Regions from separate parts of the Homo sapiens genome. Here region 1 is linked to region 2. The links are contacts of gene promoters, found by promoter capture Hi-C in human tissues and cell types (Jung and others, 2019). All regions are on one chromosome and are shown on one strand. The core of a region is centred on a gene start or on the middle of the fragment in contact, and the rest is flanking DNA. Distances in the headings are between cores, read along the strand shown.

Region 1 (5,678 bases), core at 3,018-5,517, 1.2 Mb after region 2:
GGGAGCATGGTGTAGAAGTACATTTCCCTATTCATCCCACTAAGTACAATTGAAACCTTATATTTTATATAAAATAAATATAGTAATACTCTGAAAGGTAGAGAAAAGAAGGCAGACCGGCTAGGGACCTCAGGACCCAAGGAGCTACAAAGTGGTGAATTATAGGGTTTACTTTTCGCCTTACGTATACTTGCCTTGGAGTTGAAGAACCCATCAATCTGGAAATGCGCATGGTCACAAACAATTTTAAAACCCCAACAAAATTTTGTGGTTTTTTTTTTTTCTGGCAAACAAAAAACAACAACAACAACAACAACAAAATCAAAAAAAAAAAAACGGAAAAGAGCAACAGAGAAGAAAGAAAGAAAAAAAAACCTTTCAAACAATAACCCCTCTACTGCAACCTAATGGCACTGAAAAGAACCGTGTCCTCTCCCCTACGCATAGCAGTTAACGCAAGTGGGAAACTGGACTTCTCCCTTTGTGAGGCTGTAAAGAAGCACCACAACAACCCTGCTGGGGTAGTGCCAGAGAGGGCTAAGGAAGCTAAGACGTTCATCCCACCAGCCAGTGGTGAGTCTTCCACTTCCCCTTATGGTGTCAGTGTATACCATATGGGGAGGCTGAGCTTCCAACCTCACACCAAGATGGTGTCAAAGACAACCTAGTAGAAAGTCAAGATTTTAACCCCTGCCCAGCAGTAATGAGTCCACCCCCACCATAGTGTCAGGAAAGATCCCATGAAAAGCTGGAATTCCCATCCCCAAAAAGCAATAACAGGGAGTCCCCATCTCAGGTGTTAAAGAGGCCAAATGGGGAATCTGAACTTTTACCTTCACTTACAGGTAACAAGATGACAGAGAAAGCGAGCTAAAACGGAAGGTTTAAATAAGTCCCAGAATCTCAGTATATAATGTGAAAACATCCAGTTTTCAATTCAAGTCACTTATTATATGTAAAGCCAGAAAGATCTGAAAGTGAATAAAAAAGATATTCAACAGATACAAACACCAAAATTCCAGAAATGTTAGAATTACCTGACAAGATTGTAAAGCATACATGATAAAAAAAAAAAAAAAAAAAAACACTTCAATGAGCAATTACAAACATACCTGAAACAAATGAAGAAAATAGAAAGCGCCGGCCAAGCAATAGAAACTGCCAGTGAAGTAATAGAAGATATTATGAAGAACCAAATGGAGATTTTACATCTAAACCTAAAATAAGTAAAACACTCAGTAGACGGGCTTAACAGCAGAATTTTTCCAAATGGATCAATTCTTTGAAAACATAAACTACCACCACTCGCCTAATACAAAATAGATTATTGCAATAGTCATAACTATTCATGAAATTGGATTTATAATTTTAAAACTCCCTCTAAAATATCTCCAGGACCAGATGGTTGCACTAGATAATTCTAGAAGAATTAAAGCCAATTTGACACAATGTCTTCCAGAAAATAGAAGAGGATGAAATACTTCTCAGTACATTTTATGAAACTGATAATGCTCCAATATAAAAACCAACCAGACAGTACAAAACAATCTACAAACCAATATCCTCATAATATACTTAACAAAATACTAGCAAATAGAATTATGATATATATATATATATATATATATATATATATATATATATGATGACCAAGTAAAAGTTATTTGAGGAATGCAAGGCTGGTTCTGTACTCTAAATCAATTAATGCAATTACCATATTAATAAGCTAAAGAAGAGCAGTTACCTGATCACATCAATGAAAGCAGAAAAGGCATTTGACCTAACTCAATACTCATTCAGATAATAATGTCAGAAAAGTAGTTGGTTAAGAAAGAACATCTACAACAAAGCTTATATCTATAATTATACTTCATGATTAAAGACTGAATATTTTTCCCCTAAAAGCAAGAATAAGGCAAGGATATCCATTCTAACCACTCTTATTCAACATGTTGCTAAAAGTTCTCGCCATTGTAGTAAGGCAAGGAAAGAAATGAAAATGCATACAAATCTAAAAGGAAGAAATAAATGCAAATGGCATGGTTGTATACATAGAAATTACCAAGCAATTTACAAAAACAAAACACAAAACCTCCTAGAAATAATAACCAAGTTTAGGAAGGTTGCATAATACAAAATAAACATACAACAATCAATTATAATCCCATACAGTATATACTTCAGTTCTCCCCAAATTGATAATCAGGTTTAATGTAATTTCTACCACAATCCCACCAAGATTTTTTGTGGTTATAGACAAAACTATTCTAAAATTTATATTGGAAGGCTAATGAGCTAGAATATCTCAAACTATTTTAACAAAGAAGAATAAAGTGGAAGGAATCCATCTACCCAAATTTCAAAACTTGCTTTTTAGGTACAATCATTAAGACTGTGTGTGTGGTACTGATGGTGTGGTATGGATGGAGTGTGTCAGGGCTGGAGGGGTAGGCACATAAATCAATGGAACAGAAGAACCCAGAAGTATTTCCATACAAATGTACCCAACTGATATTTTGACAAAGGTGCAAAAGCAATTTAATGGAGGAAAGATTACTTTTTCAATAAATGATGTTGGAACAATTGGACATCCAATAAATAATAAATAAATAAAAATAAAGCTTGGCCTGTCTCACACCTTCTACATTAATTCAAAATGGAACTTGGGCTTACATATAAAATATGTAACTATCAAGCTTTTAGAATAAAAACATAAGAAAAAATCTTGTAAGTCTAACTAGGCAAAGAGTTTATAGACTTGACACCAAAAGCACGATCCATAAAAGAAAAAAATTGATAATTTGGACTTCATGAATATTTTTAAAATTTGTTCTACAAAAGAACCTACTGAGAAGATGAAAAGAGAAACTACAGAGGAAAATATATTTGCAACCTACAAAGAACTAGTGTTTATAATAAAGAATTCTCAAAACTCAACAGCAAATAAAACAAATAGCAAACAATTCAATTAGAACATGGGCACAAGACATAAAGAGACATTTCACCAAGATACAGATAGCAAATAAGCACATGAACGATATAAAACATCATTAGCTATTAAAGTGTAAATTAAAACCACTCTGAGTGAATAAAAATCAATTCTAAGTGGAGTGCATAATGTTTCATTCTATTTACATATCATTCTTCAAATGACAAAATTATAAAATGAAGAACAGGTTCATGGATGCAGGGAGTAGGGGTGGGGAGTGGGTGTGACTATAAAAGGACAAGAGAGATCCTTATGGTAATGGAAATGTTCTAAATCTTGGCTATATCCATGTCAACATCTTGATTGTATTGTACTATAAGTTTTCAAGAGGTTACCACTGGGGAAAACAGTAAGGCTACACTGGACCTATCTGCATTATTTCTTACAACTTCATGTGAATCTATAATTAATTCAAAATAAAATAATAATAAAAATAATAATTAACTGTAACTGGTTCTTATTCCAAAAAAGGAACAAAATTAATCTCAGGACAGAATAACAAACTCTACAGAAATCTGTGTGAAAAAGAAGTCTTCTGAAGGGCATGGTCTGAAATGAGAAAGGATGGGGGTGAAGAGGGTTGAATTATAGAAAATAATAATTTTGAATCATTAGGGGAATCCCAGGAGAGAAACAGTAAAGGGATCAGGAAATGAAGAAAAGGGGGAAGATGTGTGGAAGTTCAAAATCAAAGGATCAGGAGCATATTGGAAGAGCCCCCTCAAAATAAGGCCAAAGAGGATTTTCACATGGATGAAATGACTGAGGAGACGTTTTTTAAAAGGATATCTAATATTTAACTTTCAGTAACTTGTCATATAGCAACCCTTAATTTCTCCAAATCTTCTAGAACAGCTTTTTGGTTTGTGTCCCCTTGAAGGAGACTGGAAGACAAGAAGAAGGGAGGAGAGACCCGCCCTTCCCGAAGTGCTTGCAGTTTCTACCAGCATTAGCCTGGCAAGGGCTCTACACCGTGGCCACAGGACACTGTTTCCAGGCTCCACACAGTCTCTTCCTCAAGCTTCTACATTCCAATATCTCCAAACTCTTCTCTTTGTTATCCCATCTCATCGCTGCCCCATCTCTTCCCATTGTAGCTGTTTGCTGCAACTGCTACCTCAGTGTTACCTTAACATTCCTTTTTCATCTTTTCTATTCCCTAATGTATTTTAAACCAAACCTTTGTATTTTTTTCTGTTAAATACCTCAGATGGTTTCTTTTTTCCTGATCAGACTTTAATATTATACTCATATAAATAATATTCATGAGTGCAAGATTTTTATAAGCACAGATGGAGACAAGTGGTAGGCTTGGAAGATGTACAGACTGAAAGCTTCACTTCCTTTGAGACTGACCACAGGCAGAACTAGGAAAGTAATTTAGCATTGCACGAGAGTACTGCCTCAAATCAATAGCCTTTTATGTTAACATGACATTTATGTTTTCCCAAATAATAAATTCAACTGGGTCAACTTTTTGCCACTAGGTATAAAATAACACTTTTGGGTGGATTTTCTGCCAGGCTACCTATGAGGTTAGCATATAATTCATTTATTTGTCTTTTAATCCAATCTGTTATGATGACATGGCAGAAATAATTTTACTAGAAAATGTATAATTATCATACCAAAGGGGGATCGAAAGTTAGAAAGAATCAAGTTGAAACTTCAATTGTGTCTTAAATGGTGCTTCTGTAGGTAATAAATAGGCCCCTATTTCATGGATTTACCTTTTAGTCATTGCAGTGTCTGTTTCAAGCACACAGGCATGTTATTTGTAATTGAGATACACATCCAGATTTCAGTTTAACTTGGAAGACCTCTATAAAAAGGCTGATTATACTGAAGTGCTTCACTGAGTGGTCCAGGACAATCACGGATTAATTCAGGGAGATGCTGGAAGGTTATTGGCTGTGTAAGAAAGGACTTGAAAGGAACACCCTACCCAGACATGGTAGAAACCCCAGACTAAGAAAGGACCACCCTACCCAGACGTGGTAGAAACCCCTGCACAAACTTCTCTTCATGATGCCTTTCTGCCATGTTCCAGGTTTTTCTCTGCCTTCTGGTGGCAGCAAACTCCGTCCTCAAGAACTCTTAAGTTGTTGCTTCTCAACTTCTCAACAAGGCAGAGAAGCTTGGGTAGAGAAAGGTGTTTCAGCTAATATTTCCTAAATTGGAAAATGCCAATGTAGGTAGGACTTCCCGTCTTGCCATTGGTGGATCTGCTTATGCTAAAGGGAATTTTTTTTTTTTTTTGGCTCCATGCAAACTGAAAAATCTAGGCTTCTTTTTAAGTATGAATTGATTCCCAGCTCAAAAAATGTTATCCACCTCTTGGCTGTTTCCTCAGAGCTACTTCAGTTCTCAATTCTGCCCAGAGACACCAAGGAAGCTTCACATTTACAGAATCTCATTCCTGTCTAGCAGTTGAGAGTTTGTTTTTCTGAAAGCTTAAGTCTTCAGGTTGTGCCTTCTCTGGCAGACCTACTTTGAGACATGTGCCCATTTTTAAACTGCACTGAGTCAAACAGGATAGAATGAGGTAACTAAGCTGGACCAGAACACATGTTCTACTCATGTATTCTGTGAGTGAAATCAACTTTACCTGAAAAATATGAGATGGGAGTGGGCAAGGAACGGCTCAGAGGAAAATGAGGATACCAGTGCTACAAAAAGGAATGGATCT
Region 2 (5,244 bases), core at 2,712-5,211:
AAATAACATTGTTGACTTAAAAAGCACTGCAGTCAGAGCCGCTTGGTTTTAGTCCTCAGATGTGTGACTTTGGACAATCATCCTACCATTTTAGGCTTTTCTATAGTTTTTTAATAAAATGCACAGGTTACCCTAAATAAAATTGAAGATCTCTCAGCTCAGAGTTAATAAATGCTATCAAATCTCTCAAATCTCAATTTTGGGGTCAAGTAAAATGATATCTGAAACCAATAAAAAAAGAAGGCTTTATGTGAAAGGTGCATCAGCCTAGCTAATTTGGAAGGTCTTAACTCAATCTAGAAACTATTTGATCTCATCTCACACAAATAGTCTAGTTCTTAATTTAAGCATTCAATTTGGACAAAGGCATTCAAATTAATGGTGTGTTTATTACAGAACATGCGTTTTTGTAAAGTGAAAGTAAAAAGATACCAAAACAATCTCCATTAACTCAATGATTCTCAGTGCTGGCTGCACATTAGAATCACAAAATGAGGGTTTAAAAATGCAAACACTTGAAGGCCCAGCTTGATGGCTCAGGCCTGCAATCCCAGCACTTTGGGAGTCTGAGGCGGACAGATCACTTGAGGTCAAGAGTTCAAGAGCAGCCTGGCCAACAGGGTGAAACCCCATCTCTACTAAAAGTACAAAAAATTAGCTGGGAGTGGTGGCAGGCCCCTGTAGTCCCAGCTACTAGGGAGACTGAGGCAGAAGAATCACTTGAACCTGGGAGGCGGAAGTTGCAGCGTATGGAGATTGCACCACTGCCAAAAAAAAAGACTCTTGAACTTTACAACCTCACAGGAGACCACCTGAATCTGAATTTCTGGCAAGAAATTAGGTGCATAAAAACCTTGCAACAGTTTTTTATTTTTACTTTTTAAATGGTTTTTTGGAAGCTTCCTAGGTGATTTTGACATTGAGAACTCTGAATTAAAGCAATGTAAGCAATCGATCTTAACTATTTTAAGGACTTTGTAACCAGAGAGGCTGTGTGAAGGAATGGAAACAGCCAATGTGAGTGGGGTTTGACTGTCACCTTTGCCACTAATAAGCCCTTGACACTACTAAAACATAGTAGGTGAGCAGCAAATGCTCATTTCACCTTTCTTAAACTGTGGTTTGCTTGTTTCTCTTCAGTCATCTTCCTTCCACTCTGTTTTCTAATTTTATTTTTGAAACCTGTTTCTACACAGCAATTTAATCATAGAACAAGGTTGAAGTTGATAATTGTATCAATTTCAGTTCAGGGCTTACTGACTTGACACACTTTTTTTTTTTTCTAGAGAGTATTAAAATTGAACACATTCATGAAGAGAGAAAAAGGAAAAAGTTCTGCTTGACAATTAATAAGTAATTAGGAAAATAATACTCATACAGTTGTGGATAGCATCTGGTATTACACATCTCATGTAATTAAAAATTAATGTGTATCTATCTATTAAGATTTCCTGTGGATGTTGCAGCTTATTTTGGTAATTTAGACAGTCCTCCAACCTTTCTGGGTCAAGTTAAGCCACATAGTTAAATAAAGCATCATAACTGACTGAAAATCCCATGTCCAATCCTGGCAGTTTTTTAAACAGGAACAGAGGATATAAGAGCTAGATGAGAGTTTGCACATTATAGATTAAGGTAGGAGGTCTGAAAGCTTATTGAAATAGATTTTTTTCCAAGCACATTTTTTCTAGCCTTTCCTGCACAAAACCCATTACATTTGGTAAATAGCTGACTAATAACACCAGAAATTATACAGTGGCTATTTTTTAAATGAACTTCAGTAGACTCCATTGGGATGGGGTACAAACTTGGTTGGGCGGAGAAGGCCATCTACATTTCAAAACTGCAGATTGTGGGAAATTGAGTGCAAGATTCTTCCCATCCCATTCACATATTGGGCTTAATTTCATAGAGCATTGCTAGTCAAAAGTGCTGTATTAGAAATTTTTGGAAGACAGGCAGAAAAGCATTCCTTTAACATATGGTTTTAAAATGATAAATAATTAAGCACATATTTCTTTGGTTACCATTTGCCCCTAATTCAGAATGAAAAATTCAGAATAGATGAAATAGGAATTCAATTCCAAATAGTAATGCTTCATATTTTATCTAAAGTTTTCAAGGACTGAGAAAGAAAGCTAACTTCTAATGCAGCCTAAAGAAAAAGTGAGACAGAATGAACCAGATCCTTTAGCTAAAGATATCACAGCAGTCACATCCTTGGAAATAGGATACAGTGGTCATACAGCTGGACTATTAGAGAATAAATGTGATTTTTTTTTTGCTGCTTATTAGCTGTATGATCTTATACAAGTTACCTGATACCTTTATAACCTCTAAAATAGGGAAAGACTGATAAGAGCATGAAATGAACGAATGCACAAAAACACTTGCCACGGGGTTTGCACATGCTAGATGTTCAATGAATATTAGCCATCTTCATTATTTACCTGTTTAAGCCTCAGGATCTTCATACTTTCAAAAATGAAGATCTAATCCAATAATTATTTCCCAAACATTCCTGATTAAAAGAATCACCATAGACATTTAGTAAATTGTGCCTTCTCGGGACTCTCTCCTGAAGATTCTGACCAATTAGTCTGGGATAAGGCCAGGAATTTGCATTTTTAATTTGTACACCATATGAATCCTGTTGTGAATAATAATTTTATTTTTCAGAGACATTAGTGTATATCATTTGTTTTTTTAATCATCCAGATATTCATTCATTCACTCATTTATTCAATTCACAAAATACATAATGCACTATTGCCATTTTTAAAGGCACCATACTATGTTCTGGGAAATGCAATAATGAATCAAGTACTCTGTTCATTGCAGTTTAGAAACCTAGTAGAAGTCATTAAACAAATAATTACACAAATATCTAAAGTGTGCTATAAAGGAAAAATACAAGATACATTGAGAGTTCTTAACAGGGCACCATTTCTGTCCTTGATGGGGGCTGCAATGAGTGTTCAGGTGAGAAGTTTATACCCTGCCTGAAGAAGTGATTGTTAAGGTTCCTCCCTACTCTGACATCGTATATCTAGCATATCTTACCTGCCAAGAGGAGAAGAATGATGCTGGGCTGAGTAAGTTAGGATTTGTGGGGTGCTGACCTCCCATGTACTCATCTGTGCAAATGTCACACTTTTCTGCATCCCGCCAGTCCCAATATGGAATAGTGAAGTTTTCATCTCCTGTCAGCTTCTGGATTTCTTGTTCCCACCGCAACAAGAAGAGTCTATGCCAAGGCAGAAAAGCTGGTGCTTCATGGGCAAAATCAATGTCTCTCCAGATTTCAGATCCCCCAAGCAGTGCATCCATTGACACATAATAATGCATCCAGACAAAGAGGTCATAAATATTGATGTCGTTAAACATGGGTGTTGATCCATTTTTCATTTGGCCATAGGTCCCTATGGGGATGACATAGTCTGAGCTGATGGTATGCTTTGCTAAAGTGAGGTAGGCAAAAAATTTGTCCTTCTCTGGGGCACTCAAATCGAAGATGTTTCTTCTCACCAAGAGTCGTCTCTCTGTGCAGTTTGGTCCCCAAAAGCCAAACTTGCAGTTTCCACAGTTGAATCCCATGAAGTTGCCAGAGCACTGGCAGGTCCTATTATAAAAGACGGAAGGCCACGACTCCCGGTCATCCACCCCTGTGAAGGGAAATTGAGGCCCAAGTGGTGCATTGGACAGAAGGATATTCTGACAGGAACCTCTGCCTGAAAGCTGGCCACAGGGACTCCTGTCCCCGCTCCACGGTGGACAGCATTCCTTCTCCATCAGGTTCTTAGAGGAGACACAGGCTCTAGGGAAATGGCCAGCGGAGGTCTGGAAACTCCACAGCAGGCAGTACAAAACAGCCAGGAGCATTCTTCCTCTAGTCCTCACAAGGTCTGCAGGAACTGGCTAATTGGAGTCACAGATTTCTCTTTCCAGCTACTACTACAGTGATTATCACATGTCTTGGCTGAGACCTATATAATACCACTCCCACCTCCAGCATCAAACACTTTTAGTCTTTATCTTAAGCTTTCATCCTCTGAAAAGCACATGACTGACTTTTCTTTCGAATTGGCTCGTATCCCACCAGTGGGATAGGCCTATGTTAAAGTGAAAAACTCTATTCACCATTAATAGTTTAATTCTTATGGTTAGAATATTAACAATAAGGTTAGTAATAATAATGCCTGACCTAAGCAAACCCAGTTAATAGACTACAAAACTAATGATGATTTGACCTTGCAAATGAGAGGTAGTGTCAGGAATAGAGCTTCTCTTATTAAGAAAGTTTAGGAAGTATTAAAGATTATGGGTTTAAGGTAGTTATTTCTCAGAGACCATAAAGAGGCTACAATGTTTGAAGAACTCAATATGCAGAGAGAGATTGTCTTCAGAGCCCAGACAGAATTCCTTATATGTTATTGAATTTCAGTTTGTTTATTTTATACAACGTATCAGAAAAAAAAATCTTTCTGATACTTTTCTCTGATAATCCTGATGCATTTTCTGACAACTCCTAAGGATAGCTCACTTTGATAACTGGGCGATTTGCTTCATTGTGGGGATATCTCACGTTAAAGAGCTCTCTCTCTCTCTCTCCCTCTCTCTCTCTTTCTCTCTCTCTCTCCCTCTCTCTCTCTCTCTCTCCCTCTCTCTCCCTCTCTCTCCCTCTCCCTCTCTCTCCCCTCTATCCTCTCTCTCTCTCCTCTGTCTCTCTCCTCTCTCTCTCTCCCCTCTATCCTCTCTCTCTCTCCTCTGTCTCTCTCCTCTCTCCTTTCTCTCTCTCTCCTTTCTCCTCTCTCCTTTCTCTCTCTCTCCAATGCTGTAGCCATATTGTTTTTCCTATCAATTCTAGAAATTAGGAATTTTTTTGAAAATGTTTTTGCAATGTGTTTTGTGCAAAGACATTCTCAATTAGTGAGTGAATGAAAAAGGAGAAATATATTTCTTCAGCAAATATTTTTGATCATCTCAATTATTTCAAAAGTTCCTTCTCTGTGTATAGTGAGCTAGGGAAACTGAAATTCATGGCTAAAAATACAACTTAACTATGTTAGTTTTCAAATGAGTAGTATAGATAATTAAGTCAAACTTTTAATGGAAGAGATGTATTTGTGGGCTGATATTAGAAAGAATTGCATAATTTTGATAATAATATGCAAGTGTTATCAAGGGAGTGCCTTGATTAATATCTCAAAGAGTGGGCATAAGTTGGACAGACAACTGAGAATA

Evidence for each region. Contacts are between HindIII fragments. The study calls those that stand out against the background at their distance.
Region 1: a contact is called between a fragment that was not itself captured here and the fragment with the promoter of TYR in region 2, in 1 of the 25 tissues and cell types used here (dorsolateral prefrontal cortex).

Annotation. Positions count from the first base shown.
Region 1 is chr11:87,933,278-87,938,955 of GRCh38, reverse strand. It overlaps a transcript of RAB38 not described here. Among named protein-coding and RNA genes, the nearest start is that of LINC02711, 220 kb to the right of the region's middle. The HindIII fragment of the contact is 3,215 bases long and covers 2,660-5,678 here.
Region 2 is chr11:89,176,592-89,181,835 of GRCh38, reverse strand. TYR (tyrosinase) reads right to left here and starts at 3,961. Exons shown (of 5, transcript NM_000372.5): 1 at 3,064-3,961. The coding sequence starts at 3,882. RefSeq lists an enhancer at 188-782. The HindIII fragment of the contact is 5,969 bases long and covers 2,847-5,244 here.